Regions from separate parts of the Homo sapiens genome. Here all the other regions are linked to region 6. Evidence: promoter capture Hi-C in 16 types of primary human blood cells and fetal thymus (Javierre and others, 2016). All regions are on one chromosome and are shown on one strand. Each heading gives the region's core, a stretch centred on a gene start or on the middle of the fragment in contact. The rest is flanking DNA. Distances are from core to core; before and after follow the strand shown. Region 1 holds the start of DIPK1B (divergent protein kinase domain 1B). Region 2 holds the start of PMPCA (peptidase, mitochondrial processing subunit alpha). Region 3 holds the start of C9orf163 (chromosome 9 putative open reading frame 163). Region 4 holds the start of INPP5E (inositol polyphosphate-5-phosphatase E). Region 5 holds the start of CARD9 (caspase recruitment domain family member 9). Region 6 holds the start of NELFB (negative elongation factor complex member B). Region 7 holds the start of AGPAT2 (1-acylglycerol-3-phosphate O-acyltransferase 2).

Region 1 (2,700 bases), core at 44-2,543, 540 kb before region 6:
AATCACATGTGTAATAATGGGCAGATATCCAGAAGATATAAAGAAGTCTCGGACCAGGCATGGTGACTCACGCCTGTAATCCCAGCACTTTAGGAGGCTGAGGCAGGTGGATCACTTGAGGCCAGGAGTTTGAGACCACTCCGGCCTGGGCAACATAGCAAGACTCCCTCTCAAAAAAAAAAAAAAAAAAAAGTCTTGGCTGGGCACCAGGTGACTCATGCCTGTAATCCCAGCACTTTGGGAGGCCAAGGCAGGATGATCCCTTGAGCCCAGGAGTTCGAGACCAGCCTGGGCAAAACACTGAGACCCAGTCTCATTCTAGATATTAAAAATTAAAACCAAAATGTAAATAAGTCTCAAAACTTAATAATAAAGAAACAACGTGATTTTTATTAATGGTCAAAAACTTGAATAGACTTTGGAGAAGATACACAGGTGGTAACTGAACACGCAGAAAGTGTGTTAAACACGCGAACCACAGCCCCAGCGAGACGCCACCACCAGGGAAATGGCTAAAATGTAAAAACCTGCCGATAGCAAGAGCCGCCCGGGATGCGGAGCAGCTGGAAGCGCCGGCGGCCGCGGGGAGGGAGCGAGTCTTGGCAGCTGCTGGCTGCGCCCCACATCCCTCACCGTCCAACTCAGCCCCCCCAGGTGTTTACCGAAGTGCAATGAAAGCTTCTGTTCACACGGAACCTGCCTATGGAGGCGGCAACGGCTCATCCCCGAGCACCCCACGCGGAGGCGAAGGAAGTGTCCTCCCGGCGAGTGGCCAAGGCGCGGGGTCTCAGCCAGGAGGGAAGGGTCGGACCCCGGGGCGGGCTGCAGGCTCGGCCAGCCCAGGGCTCCGCGCGTCTGACCCCATCCTGAGGACCCAGGGGAAGGACCAGCCCTGGCTCTGCGGCCTCGAACCGGGGGCGCGCGTGGGGAGCCCTGAACCCCGCAGCCTGCGTAGCGCACGGGGCCTCTCTCCAGCGTGGGAAGAGCCCCCGAGACGCCCAGGAGCCCGACAGGCGCGCCCCCGGCCCCGGCTCCGCCTCCCGGCCCATCCCGCGCGCCCCCAGCCCCTCCCGCAGCACCGTTGCATGAGGGGCGGGGTCTGCGGGTGGGCGGGGCCTCGGTGCCCGCCCCCTCCTCAGCCGAGCCGGGGGTCGAAGGCGGGCCGCGCGCCAAGCCCCGCCCCCGCGCGCCTCCGCCGCGACCCTCCCCCGCGCGCCCCCGCCGCGCCGCCGTCGGCCGACAGAAAGGCGCGCGCCCTCGCCTTTAACGCGGGCCCGGGGGCGCGCGGCCCGCATGGCGAGGGAGCGGCGGCCGCTGCGGGCCGGGCCGGGCCGGGGCTGAGGCCGAGCGAGCCGCGGGGCCCGCGCAGCCCCGGCCGGAGCCCACCATGCGGCGGCTGCGGCGCCTGGCGCACCTGGTGCTCTTCTGCCCCTTCTCCAAGCGCCTGCAGGTAAGCGCGGTGCGCGCCCGCCGCCCCCGGCCGCCTCTGCCTGGGGAGGCCGAGCTCCAGCCCCGGAGTGGGCCGAGTACGGAGCGGGGCCCCGGGTTCGGACACGAAGGGTTCATGAGCCCGGGGTGGGCAGCGGGGAGGGGGCGAGTGGCTCCGGAAGGACGGGACGCTGGGGGAGGGGCGGTGGCGGCGACAGGAGGGTCCGGGCGCGGGGATGCTGCGGCCTGGAGGCCCTCGCCCCGACCTGCAGGCGGTCCCTGCCCCCCAGGCCCAGAAACCACACCGAAGTCCTTTCTTCTTTTCTCCACTTAAAAAATGAGGTGTGTTATTCTGCGGTAGAAAACTTGGGACGCACAGAAACGCCCTGGCAAGGACATGACCTCCCCGCCCCCTGCCCCTTCATCCCATCAGCCAGCCGTAGCGCGGGGACCCTGCCCTGACCCCGGGATGACCTTGAACCACCGTCCCCTCCAGGGGCCTGGCCGGGTCCGCAGGGGAGGCCCGGGCCGCCTTGGGTTCCAGCTGCCAGGAGCCCTTTCACCTTCTGCTTTGGGGAGATGCAGGCCAGGCCCATCAGGCTCCAATCATCCGGGGCCCGGCCTCGGATGGGATGCCCTCCCAGACCCTCCAGGACCCCAGCCATCTGCCGGAGGCGCCAGTCCTGGTCAGATTTGCCTGTATCTCCCCGGCCCCCGCAGGGTGGTCCTGGGTCAGCAGGAGGAACCCTGCCTGCGTCCTGCCTGAGCTCAGGGCCTGGCTGGCCTCAGCTCCCCTTCTGGGAAGAGCGTATGGAACCTGGCAACCCACAGATTGCAGCGAGACCCTCTGTGCCCACTTGGGGCTTCAGGTTGTGGTGGTCCCGGCTCAGCCTTGGGGCAGGGTGAGAGCTAAGGGGTCTGAGGACCACCCCAGTCGCTGGGAGGTGGGGTGCACAGTGGTCCCCTCCCCCGAGGAAAGGCCTCGACCAGCAGCTGCAGAAGAGATGCTGATGCTTGGAGCTCCGCCCAGGAATGGCAGCAGAGGGGTGTTGGCTGCTCCCAGGGTGGCTGGCTCGGGGCCAGAGCCCTGGTGGGAGCCCAGCCTGCCCCTCTAGTGGCGAGGGCCTCAGTTTCCTGGCCTTGTGAACTGCTTTTCTGGGTTAGTGCTGTGGGGCTCCTGGCCCACGGTCTGAGCCTGCTGGGCTGAGGACCACTGTGCTGTTCCCATCCCCTGGGTGACCTTCCCTATCCTCCAAGTGGCTACACCGGGAG
Region 2 (2,926 bases), core at 310-2,809, 840 kb before region 6:
GCAGGAAGTCTTTATGACCTCACATTTGGTTTTTTTCTTTTGCACATGGAGTCTCCACTGCAGTGGTTCTCACAGTCTAGAGAACTTTTTTTTTTTTTTTGAGACGGAGTCTTGCTCTGTCGCCCAAGCTGGAGTGCAGTGGTGCGATCTCGGCTCCCTGCAAGCTCCGCCTCCTGGGTTCACGCCATTCTCCTGCCTCATCCTCCCGAGTAGCTGGGACTACAGGCACCTGCCACCACGCCCGGCTAATTTTTTTGTATTTTTTGTAGAGACGGGTTTTCACCCTGTTAGCCAGGATGGTCTCAATCTCCTGACCTCATGATCCGCCTGCCTCGGCCTCCCAAAGTGCTGGGATTACAGGCGTAAGCCACTGCGCCCGGTCAGCCGAGAAAACTTTAAAAAAAACACAAGCTCCCAGACTTGTGACCCTGGAGATGGCCTGACTTGCAGACTGGCCCTGGTGTCCGTGGTCTGAAAGCGGCTCCTCAGCAGATTTTGAAGCCCAGCCGGGGCAAGCGCGTCCTCTTGTCTTGTGACAACCCCCGAATGTCCTCAGATCCTGGCATAACCACACAAACACTCCTGCACACCCCGGGCACCCAGCAGCACTTCTGCTTGGGTAGAACGAGGACGAACCAGATCTGGCCACTGCCCGGCTGTGGAGGCAGATGGAATGCTCCAGCTCGGTTTCCAATCACTGCCCACTAGGTGAAGGCACCCCGACTCCAGCCCCACGAGGAAAGCGGGCGGGCTCCTGTGCTCCCCGGGCACTAACCATCCTGTACTGGAACTGTCTGTCTTGGGGGAGGTCTCCCCGCAACCAGACTGTGAGCTCCTAGCAGGGGACTCCGCCTTTGAATTCCGAGTGCCTGGCACGCAGTGAGCGCTCTGCACATTGATGGGTCAATGGACGAGCTCGTGCTGCAGCGGAGGTGCCACACGTGGCGCGGGAACTGGAAGCGTCCCCGGGGCCGGCGCCCTCGTCTCTCACCTGTGTCTCCCACGGAAGCCAGCACCGGGCTGGGCACATAGCACATAAAGGCCGGCCGAATGCCGAAGAAGGGGGAGTCCAGGTCCCTGCCATGGGGGCGCTCACAATTTAGCTGGGGGAGACAAGACCGGCGCTCATAGAACGCTGGAGCTGGAAGCAACGACAACAGCGACTTTACTGCGTGCCGGGGCGGCCGCCGCCCACCTGGACCGCTGGACTCGGCCCCTGCCCCGCTCACCGTCGGGAATGGCGAGGCTCCGGGCTCGGGACAGCGGGGTGGCGCCCGGGCGGCGCTGGTAGCCCGACATCGCCGCCGGCCCGGCGGGGCACGACCTGCCTAGCCCGGCAGCGGCGGCTCCATGGCCCCGGCTCCGCCCGTGCCGCGGCCCGCGTCGCCCGCCCCCGTCGCCCGCCCCCGTCGCCCGCCGCTCGGCCGCCCCCGCGCCTCCGAGCCTCTCGCCGCTGCTTCCGCTCCGAGCACCGAAAGCGCGTGCCTGAACGCCTTGGGCCGTCGGCGAGGGGGAGGGGAAGCCGTGGGCGGAAGCGGAAGTGACGACTGAAGCGGGGCGGAGACGCAAGATGGCGGCTGTGGTGCTGGCGGCGACGCGGTTGCTGCGGGGCTCGGGTTCTTGGGGCTGTTCGCGGCTGAGGTGAGCCAAAGGCGAACCAGGCTTCGGCCTGGGGCGGGGGCGGCTCGAGTCTTTCTGGACGCTCCGTCTTCGGTTTCTACAGGTGACATGGCGCCCGTGGGACGGGCTCGCACTTCGGGACACTGGTGTCCCCGAGGCGACGGGGGCCCTGCCTTGCTTTGCGCCTCGAGCCCGGGGACGCAGTCCCATCTGTCTCTCCTCTCCCCGGCTGCTGGGTCCTCTCCCCCCCTCACTTCCCGGGTCGACGGGCCTTCTCCGAGGCCATGCCTCATATTTGCCCCCGCGCTTCACCTACCGCGTGCTCCTTCAGGAGGCTGAGCCGGTGGGGGCCCAGCTCTGTTAGACCCGCAGGGTTCTGACACCAGGGTCCAGGCTCTCGGTTGCTGCGGTCTGTCCGTTGATCTCTGACGTTTAAGAACCCTTTCCGTACCCACCGCTCCTCCCACCCAAGTGACCGGGCCTGCCTTTCCCCACGCTGGAACTTTGTTCCGACAGCACAGGCGTCGCCCCTCCCCACACAACGAGCGCCGTTTCAGGGGTGCGGAGGTGCTGCCTCCAGGAGATGGATACAGGCTGGAGCGTAAACAAAATATCGGCAGTCGCGTAAATGCTTTGGAGTAAACAAGCAGCCTTTCATGATAGAAAATAGCAGGAAAGACTAGACTGGTGAGGGATAGTCCTCCATCAGGGTGACATTTAAGGGAAGAGCTGAAGAATGAAAGAAGGGGTAGGCATGGGCAAAGGGCAAGCCCTGGAACGGTGAAGAAGCTTTGGGGTTGATGAGTCAAATGTGTTCCAGGAATTGACAAGAATCAGTGTGACCAGGACCTATGGGAGTGTGGGGGTTCAAGAGATGAGTTTGGAGAGGGAGACAGAGGCCAAGTCACACCCCGCCTTCGGACCAGGTTAATAAGGGATATGGCTTTTATCCAAGACTTCGGTGGTGCTGTTGGAGGGCAGAGCTGTTAAGTGCTTTATGTGTACAAACTGCACTTAGAGTGAGTTACTGTTAATAAGCCCTGTTTTTACAGAGATAGCAACTAAGACCCAAAGGACGGAACCAGCTTGCTCCAGGTCCCGTGGCTGAGCCTTTGTTGTCAGCCTCTGCTTTGTCTTCCAAAGTCTGTAGAAATAAGTCCTGTAGAAAGGCAGATGCTCACTTTTAACCCAGACAAAACATAACTAACCGCACCTAACAGGTCATCACAGGTTTGTTGTCTCAAGCCTGTTGTAACTGGGCCGCTTTCTCTGTTTTAGGTTTGGACCTCCTGCGTACAGACGGTTT
Region 3 (2,889 bases), core at 32-2,531, 770 kb before region 6:
CTTCTAGGAAGAACCGTCTGCGGTTCCGTTTGCTTCGTATTGCCACATGGGGGATGGGAAATACCTCTTTGGTTAACATCGGCATCACACATGTAAAACAAAATCTTAATATACAATCCACACCCAACTTACAAGCCATTTAAAAGTGTTCTTAAGCGGCAAAAACTGACTTTAAATGGCTCTGATGTTTCTGAAGGCTCTACTGTAACACTTCCATCACAAAGGGGCGAGCCGGATCACACACACTCCTCTAACCCTCGGCCTCTGTTGCAACATCCTGATCGCCCAATCAAGAAATTACAAACAAACAACTCTGCTCTTTGGTTCAAATGTAAATGTGTCTCTTCACCAGCATCGCTAAGGAAGCCTTCTAGCCGGTGAGGACAAGACACGCTCATTTGAAAAGTTAAGAGTCTTACGAGGGGTGCCTGGGGGTCCAGCCTCCCGCCCCGGGAACCGGCGTCACCGCAGCCCAGCCGGGTCCACGTCAGTCCCTCGAGTCCCACGGCGGCCCGCGCCGCGTCCGGCCTTCCGCTCTGGCCCGGGGGCCCGGACGTCTGTCCCCTCGACCGGCCCCGGCGGGACCCGAGATGCACCGCCCGCTCGGGGCTGGGCCCAGCCGCCTCCTCTCCTCCGCGCCCCGACCTCCACGGCCTGGCTCCGCCGGCCGGCCTCCGCCTTCCTCCTCCCGCGCTCGCCCCCTCACCCGCGCTCGCCCCCTCACCCGCGCGGCTGAGACCGATCCCTCAGGAGCCGCGGGCGAAAGCCCACCCGACGCTGGCGACGAGCACAGACACCTCAGCCGCCGCAGCCATCTTGGCACATCCGGCTCGGGTCTCCGCGGCCGCCGCGCCGCCGACGTGTCCGGCTTACGACATCAGCGCGCGCCCCGCCCCTGGCCCCGCCCCTCGGCTCGTCGGCCCAGACGCGTTCTCTTTCAGCCCTTCACAGCCCATCCCTCGGCCCCGCCCCTCGCCGGCGTCCGTCCTCCCCGCCTCATCCCTCTGTCCCGCCCCCTCTGCCCCCGCCCCTCGCCGGCGTCCGTTCTTCCCCGCCTCATTCTTTCGTCCCGCCCCCCGCCCGTCTTCCACGCCTTATCCTGTAGTTCCCGCTCCCCTTGGCCCCGCCCCTCTTCCGTCGTTCCTCGCCTCATTCTTTCGTCCCGCCCCCTTAGCCCCGCCCGTCGTCCGTCTTTCTCCGCCTCATCCTGTCGTTCCCGCCCCTTTGGCCCCGCCCCTCGGCCGTCCTTCCCCGCCCGTGGCCCCGCCCCCCTCCGGCGTCCGTCTGCCGCCTCACCGCTTGGCCCCGCCCCTCGCCACCTGCCCGGCCAGGCGCGCCGGGGCCGTCCCAGTACGTCGCCCTGTTTACGCTGGCTCTTTCTCCCAGTCTTTTTTCGTTTTAAGATGTGAGAAGAGATGGGATTCTTCAATCAAGGCCACAAGCGGGAAATCAGTCTGCAGGACCGATGCCAGCAGGCTCACGCACCGAGAACGGCTACTCCGCCCAGCTGAGAAGCGCGGGGCCCTGACGCGGGCGCGCTCCTCGCATTCTTCCGTTGGGCTGGGAGGCTGGAGGGCAGGCGGCGGCGGCCGCGCATGCGCCGGGAGCGGCCGGAGCTGCGGGACGCGGAGGGCCGACTGCGCCTGCGCGCTGGTTGCCTGGTTACGGCGTGGCCGCGGGCACCGAGCGGCGCCGGAAGTTGGTCGATGGCTGCCGCCAGTCCCTGGCCAGCGTCCTGGGGTTTCCCCGACGCATCCTCTACTGTCCCTTCGCTCTGCACAGAGGCCCGGGCAGGGAGGGGCGGCCCGGCCACCGCGCGGAGCCGGGTGTCCGCCGACTCGCAAGGGGGACGCGCGGGCTCCTCGTCCCCAAGCTCCGCCCTGCGCCTTTGCTGCGCCGGGCCCTCCCAGGCCCACCCTGGCCCCAGCCCTGCTGTCCTCCCGGGGAGGTGCGGCCTACTCGGTTCGTTCCCCCGGCCGCCAGCCCCACAGGGGCGCTGGGGTCCCAGCCTTGGCTGAGTGCACGTCGGTGGCGAGTGGGCCCGGGCGCTCGGGCGGCCAGAGCGACCCAGCGGAGGGGTGAGGCGGGTAGGCGCTCCTGTGCCTGCCACGGCCAGGCCAGGCAGCATCCACGCCCTCCCGCGGAAGATCGCAGGGAACAGGTGGGCACTATCCTCTGTGCCCTCATTTTTCGGAGGAGCCGAGGGAGGCTGAGCGGTTGAGGAAGCGGCCAGCCATGCCGGGCCCACTCACCTGCACACCTGCCTGGCAAGGGCAGGGAAGAGCCGCGGCCTTCCTCTGCTGCTCCTTCCAGAGGGCAGGCGCCGTGGTGGGGGTGCCCGCCCGATGGCATCGCGGGAGGCTGAGCTCCCAGCAGCGGCTGAGGTCCTCCCTGGGTGGGAGCCACCCTTGTCCCCAGCTGGGCCGGCGGCTGGTGAGGGAGGGGGTGATATCCGTGCCACGCCAGCAGGGCCGCAGGCGGTGCAGGGAGAGCTTCAGTCCGGCTGACGTGGCACCAGGGCCAATCTGCTCAGCTAACATTTGCCTTTCAGGAGTCAGATTCCTGACCTGTTTGAACAGAGTTAGGGAGCACGTGGTAGGGCCCAGCCCCAGCCCCGCTGCCCCCATCTGCTTCTTCCCAGTGGTCGAGGCGCTCTGCACCCTCCGCGGAAGGAGGTGTCATTGTTTGCCCTTTCCAAAGAGGGGGATGCAGAGGTGGATGCTGCCTCTCAGGCGTGGGGCTCGCCTTTTGCCGCTCGCGAGTTCAAAGAACCCAAGAGCCAGGAGCCCAGGGCTCGACCCTCTAGGGTCCTCCGAAACCCTGTGGTCCCACCGGGGTGGGCACTAAGCTATGGGAGAGACCATAGCTGCAGAAACCAACCCTGCCCTA
Region 4 (2,755 bases), core at 233-2,732, 820 kb before region 6:
TGCCATCCTGTCTACCTTAACACAACGTCACGCCCACGAATGGTTCTGAAACGCACAGGAAAAGTTCTGGGAAGGGCGCTGCTGTGGGGTGGGGCTGGGAGATGGGGTGGCTGCGGGAGACCCGCTTCGTTCTTTCCGGTTAGGCATCTTAAACGCTGCTGATGGGAACGGTCTCACGAGGTTCCAGCAGCCTGAACACTACAACGAAGGCGGCGCGGGCGCTGCACCCGCCAGGCCCTCCCTACCTGCTGCGGACGTCCTTGCTGCGGATGGGCGCCAGGAGGCTGAAGGAGGATTTGGCCGAGCGAAGGGAACAGTCGTCGCAGGCCAGGGGGCTCCGCGGCCGGCCGGGGCCCAGGCTGCTGTGGGCCCGCACCAGGAGCGGCTGCGCGCGGAGCTTGTAGTCTGCAAGATCCGAGTCGACCTTGTTTGCTGTCCTCAGGGAGTCGGAGGCGATGTCCAGGCTCAGGGCAGGCGGTGGGCGCGGGGGCAGCAGGCTGGGCAGCCTGGGCGAGCTCCCCGCCACGGCGGCGTCTCTGTGCGGGAGGTTCGGGGAGCTGCTGGCCACCCCAGAGAGAGGGTTACCCCCCGAGGACGGGCTCCCTCTCTCACTGCTCAGGACCCCGCGGGACTTGGGGATTTCCTGCAAGGAGGTGCTCAGGCAGGGCGGGGAGCAGCTGTGGGCGGGGGCCCCGGGGCCCTCGCTCTGCACTGAGCCCCTGGAGGGACTGGTCCCATTCCGGGCTTCCAGGTCCTCCTGGCTGCCTCGAAAACGCCTCCTCCTCCAGCCCTTGTCGTCCAGGGACAGGGCTCGCTCCAGTCGAGGCCTGGCGGGGGGCCGCGGGGCGATGGGTGCTGCTCGGGCTGGCGGGTCCTCGCCGCTGGGCGTGGCCGGAGTGCTGCAGGCAAGCGCGGGGCTCTCGGAGCCCGGAGCATCGGGTGGGGACCCCGCGCGCTGGGCCGGCGGAGCGCCGGGAAGCTGTCCTTGGAGCGTCCTCCCTTCCGGCGGCTGCGGGGCCGGCTCGGAGGGCCGCAGATTCTCCGCCTTGGACGGCATGGACGGTCTCTCCCGGGGCAGGCCTCGGCGCGAGGCCGCAGGCAGCGCGAGGGGTCACGGGTGCCGGGTCCGGGGTCGCCGGCGCAGCGAGGAGCAGAAACGCCGCTGCGGCTCCCGCTTGGGCCGGGGATGGTCGCGGAGGGGCGGGGGCGGCTGCCGCATGGCCCGGGCCCCGAGTCCCGCCAGCCCCTCGGGGCTCCCAGACGCCGTTCCCAGGGCGGTCCGCAGGCAAGGCCTGGGGGAACAGGCGGCTGGGCGCCTGTCGCGGGGGAGGTTCGACCCCGACGGGGACGCCGCTCGGGGAGAGGGGTGGGAAGCGGGCACCCCTGGCTGGGCTCGCAGACTCCGAAGTCGACCCGGTACTCGCGGAGGCCCGGCCGCCCAGAAGCGGAGTCAGCCCGGCCGGGACCCAGCAACCGCCGCCGCGGGGCCGCGCCCGGTCCCCGCCCCGCGCCCCGGCCCCGCCCACAGCGGCCCCTGGCGGCCGGAGGACTGCGCCGCACCGGACCCGGACGGGTCTCCCACGCCCCTCCCAACCCGGCAGCCCCGCAGTCCGGCAGGTCCCAGCGAGGCAGGTGCAGGTCCCCGGAGAGGACCTGGGTGCGGTCCAGGACAGCGCCGAGGCCTGCGGACACCTGCACTCACTCGCTTCCAGCAAACCAAAGGGAACCACAGGTGAAGGTGCTTGAAGGAGCGCAAAATATTTTATTCAACAATTTGCAATGTAACAATTCTCATTTAGGAAAAATAGCCGCTCCCGCCTGGAGGAAGCTTCTTGAATCAAAAGTCGTGGCAGTCGACCCCAGAACAGCGGGCAGAGCCGACCGGAAGAGGTCCCAGGATTCACACGAGCTGACCGAGGGACAGAGAGGGCTGCCCCGTCACAGGGACTGGCCTTTCTCCAAGTGACAAGGACAAATGGATCCAGCGGGACACGCCTGTGGAACATTTTGGAAAACATCCTGGGTGGTCTGGGCTAAATGATCAAGTGAAACAGAAAGCCAGGAAGGATCTGTGCTAATTCCACATTCTACAATTTCTACACTTAAATTTAAAACACCAAACAGTTTGTATTCCTCCAGCAGAACCTACAGAAATTATCTACTGATTTTTATTAGTATTTAAATCTTTTCTTCAGTCTCTTTAGACTTGACAAGAATACGAAGAGTTTCAGAACAGTCAGAGAAGCCTTAAAGCTTTGCATCAGTGAGAGGAGGCCCGTCTCTGAGTTGAACAGGGTTGAGTCCACCAGGAGCTACTCAAAGTCTCAGTGTGGCAAAACTCGGGGCAGAAATACTAAGTTCCAGAGCTGCTGTCAAGAAACTGTGTTAAGATACTCTCCCCAAGTGCTACCAACCTCTGAACCAACGTCCCCCAGGGGAGAAAGTGGGTCATGTGGATTGTACCACGAAAAGTGCTCACGGAAAGTGCAGCCTTTTAGAGAAGTGCATCCAGCTTCCTTAACAGTGAGTCTAACCGTGCTCCTACACACGAAATGAAGCCCAAATCAAACATCACACGGTCAGTTTTCAACCTGGATGACCACCCTGAGCCATCATGTCAGACAGCCGGCTCTCTGGGGCTCCTTCCCAGTGACTGGGCCACACGGTGGGCAGTCCCCAGCGCTTTGGGTACACAAAATCACCCATGGTCCTCATCAGGCCACAGAAAGTAAAGTGAGGCTGGAAGCGTCTTTGC
Region 5 (2,930 bases), core at 70-2,569, 880 kb before region 6:
GCTCCTGCCCGTTGGCATCCATGTCACCCAGATACGCAGCGGGGGAGGCACAGATGGGGTCTGAGAGAGGAACTCCCCCTACAGCATGACCCCCTCTGGCCTCTGCCTCCTGGACACTCCCATCACGCCCTGGAGCCTGCAAGGTTAGCCACCTCCATGGCTGGAATGGGCAGAGGAGCTGAGGGCAACTGCCTGGCACTATGGCCAGCCCAAGCTGGGTGAGAGCAGGTTGGCCAGTGGCCCTCCCACCAGCACAGCAGCTGGGGGAGCCGGTTCTTGTGGGACTTCCTCATTCCCCTGACCGACGCCTGCTCACATCCCTGGCTGTGCCCTCCCTCCTCCACGGCCGGCTGCTGATGATGCAAGAGTGGCCACCCAGCCCTGCTGCAGCTGCGGGGTCGCTGCACTGGCCGGGAAGAGCTGCCCACAGGAGCGTGTCTCTGTCACCCCCTGCCGGCCCCGCAACCCTGGGAGGGGCTGTCAGTGTTGCCCTTGGCTGGCCAGGAGTGCTGCTGCGGTGTTTTCTCCAGGTTGAGGTGCCGGGCACCAGTGAATCCCTGGACTCTTCTCCTGCCCCAGATGAGGCCCGGCCCCCATCCCAGTGGCTGCAACAGAACTACCCATGTTGGGACCAGCCACTGCTGTCCCTTTCTGCCAGCATGGTGGGGGCCTCAGCCGCTGAAAGCCACTCCCTCTGAGACTGGGACTGCGGCAAGGCTGGGAGCAGCCACGTGGTCCTCAGACAGCCTCCAGCCCCGCTGGGAAACGCTGGTTTCCAGCCCAGAGGAGCTGGGTCACTGCTCCTGGAGACATAGTTGCCCCAGGCTTGGTCTTTTGAGGCATTTCTCAACTTCCCGCTGCACTTTGTCACCCCATTCAGGACAGTTTTGACAGACAAGGGACTGAATAAAAACACTGGCCACACGGTAGACAGTCCTGGGAACACTGGGCCCCTTTCCTGCTTCCCCAGCTTGAAATGCAGGGTCCCATCTGCCACCGTAATTCCACTGAAATGAACACATCTCCGCCCAGGGGCCGTGAAAGGGACGGGGCCGCATGGCGGAGGCTGCCTGGCTGCCTGTGGGAAGCCTCAGGCTGCTCTGGGGGATCAGTGCCAGGATCCTGAACTAGGCCAACGCCAACCTTCCTGGCCACCTTTCAGAAAGCACCAGACCCACCCACCTGAGGGTCTTCCAGGAGCCACCTGCACTGCAGACACACCAGGAGCCTGGGCCGCGGAGCCTCTGGGAGATGCTGCCCGGGGCTGCAGGGAGGGAGGAGCACGCCGGACGCCTGTGCACTTCCTGATGGGTTCTGCTTAACTCCACAGTCCCGCCAGTCCTCCCACAGGGGGACAGTCCCTGGTGACCTGCTTTCTGATTCGCCCAGCCCAGGAGGCCCCAAGAGGCAGACGGAAGTGGAAGTCCGCTGCCCTCCAGAGGAAAGCTGCTCCCAGCCCTCCCAGCCTGGCCGGGGGCTGGGGGTCCTGGGGATGCCCCAGAGGCCCAGCCCTGGCACCTGGCAAGTAGAAGAGACAGCAGAGACCCCCAGGGGGCTGGACAAGGCCAGCCCGCACCCAGCCACTTTGACCTGGTCACAGGCTTCTGGAGACTTCTTCAGTAAGGCATGCTTTGCTCTGTGCGAACACCCTCGCCCTCGCCAGCATCTCAGGACAGCGGGGCAGGGCATGTGCAGGGGGGCACACAGCCACACGGCATGGCCAGCACACGCCTTGGTCACAGAAGGGCTGCAGCCCACCTTATGGAGCCCAGGAGGCCACAGCAGCCTGCCAGGGGCCATGGCATCGGCCACCACCCAGCTGCACACGGGGGAGAAACGTCCCTTCCAGAAGTGTCGTTATCCTCGTTATCCCCATCATGAGGCATCCCTGCTCTCCACCAGGATGCATGTGAGGACTGAGGCCACTCTCGGGGTCCCCCAAACCAGCTTCAGAAGAGCCGGTGACAGCAGGGCACAGCTCGGCCCCCATCCAGGGACAACGGACAGCAGAGTCTGCCCTGAACTGTGCACTTCAGCGTGTGGGCTGCCAGAGCCTCATCCCTGCAGGCTTGGGAACCCCCAGGCCCCGCCTCACCCGGTAAAGCTGGTTGAACTGAGTTGCCACCCAACAGGTTCGAGAAGGGGCCGCCAGGCTGGAAGGCAAGGAAGCTGGTGTGGAGCTTGCCTAACCGTTCTCAGCCTCCAGCCCTCAGGCCTCTGTGCGGACAACGTCTGACATCACACATTAAGGAGCGGACAGTTAGGGGTCCTCCTGGGCTCTCGGGAATGCCACATTCCAGGGGGCCGTGCCCCTGCTGGACCCCTCACCATCAACATGAGCGAGTGTGCAGGCCGGGGCCATCCTGGGCCCTGCCAGGGAGCGAACCGGAGCTGGCACCAGGCCCTCATGACCCAGTGTTTCCCCAGCGTTTAAAACGCGGACCTTAGTGACTTCCCTGTGGTGTGTGTCCTTAGGAGTGAACACACATACCATGTTCTCTAACCATATCGGAAGCTAAAAATCGGTAACAGATATCGGCAAAATCTCTAAATATTTGGAAATTAAATAATATACCGCTAAATAACCCACAGATCAGAGTGGCCCCCAGACTAGGCACCAGACTAGAGAACCAGGCACAGCAACACATACTCAGGAGTGAGGTCGGCCATGGGACCGTCCCGTCTGCCAGGTGCCCAGGGCTGAGGCCCCACAGTGGCTCCAGTGAAGGATCGAAGCCCAGATAGCCAAGGGCCTGGGGGCGCTGCTGCCACAGAGACAAAGGAAAGGGAGCTAGGGGACAGACGGAGAAGATGGGGGCTAGTCTTATGCCAATAAAGGCCCATGCAAAAGGAACAGTGGAGGGTGGGGGCTGCCGCCGTGTCGGGGTAGCCAGGTCATCTGTTCCAGGGAACCCCCTGGGTCAGCCAGG
Region 6 (2,700 bases), core at 9-2,508:
TGCCACCTTGCAGGAGCCTTACCTGCGGTGCCGTCACCCGCACCTCCCCAGGTCCTCCCCAGACCCAGGACCCAGACCAGGCCCAGAGCTCAACCCCTTCAAAAAGGCTCTGGGCAGCTGCTTCTGTGGCCTCAGCACCACCCCCTTTCTCAGAGAGGAATCCCAGGCTCAGGATTGTGTGTGTGCTGTGACCCTTGTCCTCCTCTGCCACCGAACCAGCTGGGGGTTGGATCAAGGCACTGGAACCCTCGCCCTAGGGCTGACCAACTTGGCCAGCGGCAAGAGAGCTGTGGTAGCCATGGCCTTGGGAGCTCGGCCCGGCTTGTGGGAACAGGAGCTCTGCTCACGGCTGCACCACCAGGCACCCCTGGTGAGACCCAAAGCTAGGAGTGGGAGCGGCAGGAAAGATGGAGCGATCTCCTCCAGCTGGGCTGAGGAGGGAGGGCTTCCTGGAGGAGGTGGTGGAGGAAGAAGCCTTCAAGGAAGAGCAAGAGTTTGCTGGGCAGCGGGAAAGAAATTTCTAGAGAAAATTTCAGCAGCGGAGACCGAAAAGAGAGAGGGTGTGTGTAGGGGGCTTGGCGCGGCACAGCCTGCGGGAGGGCGGCGGGCTGGAGAGGCGGGGAGGCCCGGGGAGCCCACCCGCCTGGGATAAGAAGGGACACTGTGGAACCTGGACTCTCCTTCACGGCTCCGCGGAGCTCGGTGGGCGCCACAGCCTCCCGGTGCCTGGGAGGGCGGCCGTCGCTCGCGCTCCCGCTGCGGGCCCGGTCTCCGCCAGGCCCCGGCCCCCTGAAGGCGCTCAGATCTCAGTTTTGGCGACAGCGCCGGGGTGGGCTTCGTGCCCGTTTCACGCGGAGGAACCCACGCTCAGGAGGGAGTCTGCGCCTGTGTCCGGCCCCTGCGGGGCAGAGGGGCGGGGAGCTCAACCCCCGGCAAAACGTCCCCGCTGCGCGTGGCTGCCGCGAGATCTGCAAGAGCGTTTTCCACGCTTATGTACACGAAATTCACTCGGCTGCGACGACGTCCGTTCCCGGAGCAGACGGACCCTGAGTCCGCCCCCCACGCCCTCACCCGCCCTCTTCTGCCAGAAAGCCCGGGCGCGGGCGGGACCGGGTGGGCGCATGCGCGCTGGGCTGGCTGGGCGGGGTCTCTCGCGCCGGGTGAGGGCGCTGCTCCCAGGAACCTGCGCGCGGCCCCGGCGGCGTTTCCCGGGGGCCGGTTGGCGGGCGGACCTGGGCGGTGCGGGGCGGAAGTGGGCGGCTGCGGGACGCGCGCGGAGTCGCGCGGCGGGCGGGACCTGGCCGAGCTGGAGGGCGCCGGGGAGCGGGGCTCGGGCGGTCCCCGAGGCCCGGCGGAGCGGGCTTCTGGGGTGTCTGCGGCGGCGCCGGGGGAACGGGCTGGGGATGGGGCGCCTAGCCGGGCGGTGGCCGGGGCCTCGGCCATGTTCGCGGGGCTGCAGGACCTGGGCGTGGCCAACGGCGAGGACCTGAAGGAGACCCTGACCAACTGCACGGAGCCGCTCAAGGCCATCGAGCAGTTCCAGGTGGGGCGGCCCCCGGGGCGGGGGGAGCCCAGTTGGAGGGCCGGGCCGCCTGCTCGGGAGTCGGGCCTGGCGGAGGCGCCGGAAGTTTTCCGGCTTTCTGCTGGTGGCTGAGTCCTGTTCTGGGGGTGGAGTCCGGAGCCAGCACCCCTTTGCTGGACGGCTGGGTGGCTTTCGGTGGCTGCGGTTACCGCCAGCACGGCTGGGAACACCTGGGTGCGTGCCTCCCTGTGCTCTCAGGACCTCGGGGTGCCCGGGCGCACTGGGCTGCGTTTGAGGTTTCTCTTGGCTTCCTCAGACAGAGAATGGTGTGCTGCTGCCATCTCTTCAGTCAGCCCTCCCCTTCTTGGACCTGCACGGGACGCCGCGGCTGGAGTTCCACCAGTCGGTATTCGATGAGCTGCGGGACAAGCTGCTGGAGCGAGTGTCAGCCATCGCTTCGGAGGGGAAGGCTGAGGAAAGGTGGGTCAGCGGGAGGGGTGGGCAGGTGAGATGTGCAGCCGGCCTCTCAGCCTTGGATCGACTCAGGGGCATTTATTGTCCTTTTGGCTCCACATCCTTGCTCCCAGAGGTGGCCTGGGCCTGTGTCTGAGTGACCCCTTGACCCATGTGTCCTGGGCGTGGAGGCTTGTCCTGGTAGCTGTTATCTGTGTAGGGACAGGCAGGTAGCTGCTGCGATTTGGCGCATCGCTGCACCATCAATCCTGTGAGTTGTTCCAGGTACAAGAAGCTGGAAGACCTTCTGGAGAAGAGCTTTTCTCTGGTGAAGATGCCGTCCCTGCAGCCCGTGGTGATGTGCGTCATGAAGCACCTGCCCAAGGTAGGGCCCTAACCCTAACCCTGATGGCGTGGACCGTCCGCCCACTCTCATGCCCTTGGTTAGTGGAAGTTCCGGTGGCCGCCTAGCTCCGGGAGCTTCCTGTGCTGCCTGCCCAAGTGCTGTCCATGGTGAGCTCTGTGCTGACTTCTCCCACATGAGCCGCGTGGAGACCGAACCTTAGCACTGGAGTTAGGGTGTGGGGCCCCTCCTGGGAAAGAGCTGTTGGTATTTAGCATGTCTGTCTGACATGCTGGGGCCGGGGAACCAGTCATAGGTGCCCTGTGGGGTGGAGCTTAGCTCGAGGTGGTCTCTGCGGGGCTGAGGCCTCTTGGCTTGTCTT
Region 7 (2,841 bases), core at 326-2,825, 570 kb before region 6:
AACTCCCTGTTTCTGCAAACTGCCTTCCTCGCTGAAGGGTGCTCCACTGGGGACGTCAGCGCCAGTCACCACCTGGGCCAGCCCTGGAGTGTGCGCTCCCCGGGACCCCGGCCTGGGCCACCTGGCCCACATCACCACTGGTCACACACGTCTGGCTGAGCAGCCAGCAGGCCCTTCTCGGACTCTCCATGCTCACCATCAGGCCCAGGGTCCTCCTTCATATTCCTGGAGCTTCTGGGGCTCCGTTGGAAGCCATGACTGTAGGCCCGTTCCAGCAGCCTCAGTGCCCTCCCAGGGCTGGCAAGGACAGCGAGTGCAGGGAGCTAGCAAACCCTCACCCACTGCCCCTGGAACCACGGGGAAGGGGGCCTCTGGGGCCACAATGCCCCCACCCCAGGCCATTGCAAAAGCCACTGGCTGGGCAGTCCAAACAGGGCAGGGAGAAATGTAGCAACAGCCTGGGGACGGCTAACAGGGAGAGGGGGCAGGCAAGAGCCTTCTCCAGCAGCCACCCCGCCCAGGAGCAGGCAGCCCCCGCCGTCTTTGGCAGCCCAGTCTGACCTCTGGCCCCCAACCCCAGCCTGGCAAAACCAAGCTCCCACCTTCTGGAAGGCGTCCAGGGGAAAATTTCAGCCCCGCCGAACCCTAGTCCTAACTCTTCCTTCCCTTCGCTTGGAAGCTGGGCCCCCGGAGCTGTAGGCCAGGGGCGCGCTCCCCAGCACGGAAGCAGGTCCCCTCCGGGTCCCCCACCTCCCTGCGAAGAGGAAAGGGAGAGAAAGGGGAACCCGCCCCACAGGTGCGCCCATCACCGGGCGGACAGTCAGGAGGGGGTCGGAGGGAGGCCGAGGGGTGCCCCCACGCCGTCGTGCGCCCTGATCAATAGCCCTGGGGCAAGTCCCCGCCGCCCCGGCCTCGGTTTCCCCGCTCAGGAAGCAGGGCTGAGCCTCTCCCAGCGCGGACCGGCCCCCTTTCTCTCCGAAAGCTGCTCCACCCCCGGAACCCCACGCCGGGCTGCAGGGACGCGGCGGAGGCCGAAACCGGTGTAGACGCCCGGGGCCAGGGCGGGGGGTGGGGTGCTGGGCACTGTGACGCCGGCTCCTTGACCCCGTGACTCCGGGACCCCCTGACTCCGGGACCCCCTCCTGTGCCTGCCGCCGGCCCAGGCGCGCTCTCCCCGGAGCCCCGGAGCGGGGCGGGACGGGCGGGGCAGGAAGGAGGGAAGCCCAGAAGAAAGTTAGGGAAGCGGAAGCGGCGCGGCGGTTCCCCGGCCCCTCCCGGCGGCCCCCGGCCTTGCCTCATGTTCTCCACCGTCCGGCCGCCGTGGCGCAGCAGGCAGACGAGCGAGGCCACGGCGGACACCGTGAAGCACAGCGCGCAGTACAGGGCGACCTTGGCGTAGAACTCGGCCGCGCGGCTCAGCTGCACCAGCAGCAGCAGCAACAGCAGCGCCGCGGCCAGACACGGCCACAGCTCCATGGCCCGGCCCGGCGCCCGACGGCGCCGCCAGCTCGCTCCCGCTCCCGCTCCCGCTTCTCCCCCGCGCGCTCAGGCCCCTTATTGCGAGGGCGGCGGGGCTGGGCGGGGCGGGGCGCGGCGTGGGGGAGGAGCGCGCGGCAGGGAAGGGCTAGGTGCGGCGCCCCGCCCCGACACTGTCCCCAACAACGCCCCGACACGGTCCCCTCACCAGGCCCCGCCCCGCCACTGTCCCCAACCCCGCCCCGACACGGCCCCCCCTTCCCGCCCTGGGTCACCCGGCCCGGACCTCCCCTCCACGCTCCCTCCCCACAGCCTTCTGCCAGGTTACCGAGGCTCTGGCGCTCTGCTCCCACCCTCCCGGTCCCAGGGGACCCCCCCATCATGGCTTGCCGGTGGCTCGGGCTCTGGCGCTGCCCCCCATGGTCTGGGCCTCCTGCCCCGCCCGGTGCCCCCTCCCCCCGCTGCCGGGGCAGCCACAGGCTCCCGCGCGCAGAACCACAGCTCCCCAAGGGCGTAAAACCAGCGGGGATGCGCCCGTGCCAGGCCGGTGGCCACGCAAAGGGCCGCCGGAACCGCCCCCGAGTGACCAGTGGCCACCTGGCAGAAAGCCTGGCTCTTAGGGTGTTCTCGGTCCCCTGCGGGGAGACTCGTGGGGGCGCGCAGGCCAACTGGGGCGTGTGTCTGGGCGGGGCTGGGTTGCCCCACCCTGGGTGCCAGAAGTAGCCTTGTCACCAGGGACGCTCCGGGGGCAGGCGAGGTGGGTGTCAGGTGGCGGCGTTCACATCCGCTTGGCAGCACGGCCAGCGTGGCAGGGCAAGGTGCAGCTGGGACAAGGGCAGCAGTCACCTGGCCCGGCCCCCACCCGGCGTCCCACCTCAGGGAGCAGATGGAGATTGAAAAGCAGTTTCCTGGGGTCCCTCCTCATAGGGACTCTTGGGTTTGCTGCAGTTGCGGGAGTGCTGGCCGCCCTGCGCTCTAACGGGTCAGCAGGGGAGCACGGCCCCTCTTTTTTCAGATGCAGAGTTGAGCTGTTAAAACATTTCCCTGAACATTGTAACCACCCCCCAAACTGTACTGAGAGAATGACAAATACAGAAACTGCTCTTCAAATGAATGGGGAACTGCGGTCCTGAAGGACGTGGGGTCTCGCTGCCTGGGCTCAGCAGCCCCTGCCCAGGCGGTCCCAGCTTTTCTTGAAAGTGGAGACACATCCTTTTGCCTTAGGCCTGTAGGCATCTTACAGCGAAACCCAGGAGAGCATTTTCCAGCCCAGTCTCCTTCCAGATCCATATGGGCTTCATCTGGAATCAGCTTGGAGGGCCTGGCTTGACCTCTTTCCACGCTTGGAGCCGGAACTGCACACCC

What was found. Contacts are between HindIII fragments. The CHiCAGO score rates a contact against its expected background, and 5 or more counts as called.
Region 1: a contact is called between the fragment with the promoter of DIPK1B here and the fragment with the promoter of NELFB in region 6, in 1 of 17 cell types (total CD8 T cells). The highest score is 5.4, in total CD8 T cells.
Region 2: a contact is called between the fragment with the promoter of PMPCA here and the fragment with the promoter of NELFB in region 6, in 1 of 17 cell types (M0 macrophages). The highest score is 5.6, in M0 macrophages.
Region 3: a contact is called between the fragment with the promoter of C9orf163 here and the fragment with the promoter of NELFB in region 6, in 1 of 17 cell types (non-activated CD4 T cells). The highest score is 5.6, in non-activated CD4 T cells.
Region 4: the fragment with the promoter of INPP5E here is called in contact with the fragment with the promoter of NELFB in region 6 in 10 of 17 cell types (activated CD4 T cells, total CD8 T cells, total B cells and 7 more); the score reaches 19.5 in activated CD4 T cells.
Region 5: a contact is called between the fragment with the promoter of CARD9 here and the fragment with the promoter of NELFB in region 6, in 1 of 17 cell types (activated CD4 T cells). The highest score is 6.6, in activated CD4 T cells.
Region 7: the fragment with the promoter of AGPAT2 here is called in contact with the fragment with the promoter of NELFB in region 6 in 5 of 17 cell types (total CD8 T cells, total B cells, total CD4 T cells and 2 more); the score reaches 9.6 in total CD8 T cells.

What each region holds. Positions count from the first base shown.
Region 1 is chr9:136,711,279-136,713,978 of GRCh38, forward strand. DIPK1B (divergent protein kinase domain 1B) reads left to right here and starts at 1,294. Exons shown (of 5, transcript NM_152421.4): 1 at 1,294-1,450. The coding sequence starts at 1,388. RefSeq lists an enhancer at 1,957-2,700. The HindIII fragment of the contact is 2,091 bases long and covers 677-2,700 here.
Region 2 is chr9:136,409,099-136,412,024 of GRCh38, forward strand. PMPCA (peptidase, mitochondrial processing subunit alpha) reads left to right here and starts at 1,560. Exons shown (of 13, transcript NM_015160.3): 1 at 1,560-1,641; 2 at 2,899-2,926. The coding sequence starts at 1,571. It overlaps ENTR1 (endosome associated trafficking regulator 1), which reads right to left and starts at 1,516. Exons shown (of 10, transcript NM_001039707.2): 1 at 1,230-1,516; 2 at 992-1,141. The coding sequence starts at 1,299. RefSeq lists enhancers at 619-778, 1,629-1,718, 1,749-1,798 and silencers at 1,139-1,188, 1,329-1,418. The HindIII fragment of the contact is 5,612 bases long and covers 1-2,407 here.
Region 3 is chr9:136,482,214-136,485,102 of GRCh38, forward strand. C9orf163 (chromosome 9 putative open reading frame 163) reads left to right here and starts at 1,282. Exons shown (of 1, transcript NR_172629.1): 1 at 1,282-2,889. SEC16A (SEC16 homolog A, endoplasmic reticulum export factor) reads right to left here and starts at 827. Exons shown (of 32, transcript NM_014866.2): 1 at 725-827. RefSeq lists enhancers at 1-720, 1,466-2,210 and silencers at 450-769, 1,000-1,109, 1,180-1,359, 1,510-1,939. The HindIII fragment of the contact is 6,891 bases long and covers 1-2,889 here.
Region 4 is chr9:136,438,363-136,441,117 of GRCh38, forward strand. It overlaps INPP5E (inositol polyphosphate-5-phosphatase E), which reads right to left and starts at 1,483. Exons shown (of 10, transcript NM_019892.6): 1 at 246-1,483. The coding sequence starts at 1,057. It overlaps SEC16A (SEC16 homolog A, endoplasmic reticulum export factor), which reads right to left. Exons shown (of 32, transcript NM_014866.2): 32 at 1,743-2,755. RefSeq lists enhancers at 1-320, 262-371, 321-955, 956-1,589 and silencers at 662-1,151, 1,212-1,391, 1,442-1,641. The HindIII fragment of the contact is 4,062 bases long and covers 1-1,826 here.
Region 5 is chr9:136,372,350-136,375,279 of GRCh38, forward strand. CARD9 (caspase recruitment domain family member 9) reads right to left here and starts at 1,320. Exons shown (of 13, transcript NM_052813.5): 1 at 1,183-1,320. RefSeq lists enhancers at 1,188-1,482, 1,502-2,215. The HindIII fragment of the contact is 14,070 bases long and covers 1-2,930 here.
Region 6 is chr9:137,254,069-137,256,768 of GRCh38, forward strand. NELFB (negative elongation factor complex member B) reads left to right here and starts at 1,259. Exons shown (of 13, transcript NM_015456.5): 1 at 1,259-1,543; 2 at 1,839-2,002; 3 at 2,261-2,360. The coding sequence starts at 1,298. It also overlaps a transcript of CIMIP2A not described here. RefSeq lists silencers at 627-806, 997-1,366, 1,377-1,556, 1,597-1,656 and enhancers at 667-1,614, 1,615-2,562. The HindIII fragment of the contact is 15,726 bases long and covers 1-2,700 here.
Region 7 is chr9:136,685,882-136,688,722 of GRCh38, forward strand. AGPAT2 (1-acylglycerol-3-phosphate O-acyltransferase 2) reads right to left here and starts at 1,576. Exons shown (of 6, transcript NM_006412.4): 1 at 1,295-1,576. The coding sequence starts at 1,476. RefSeq lists an enhancer at 181-1,042 and silencers at 763-1,332, 1,553-1,752, 2,223-2,302. The HindIII fragment of the contact is 21,227 bases long and covers 1-2,841 here.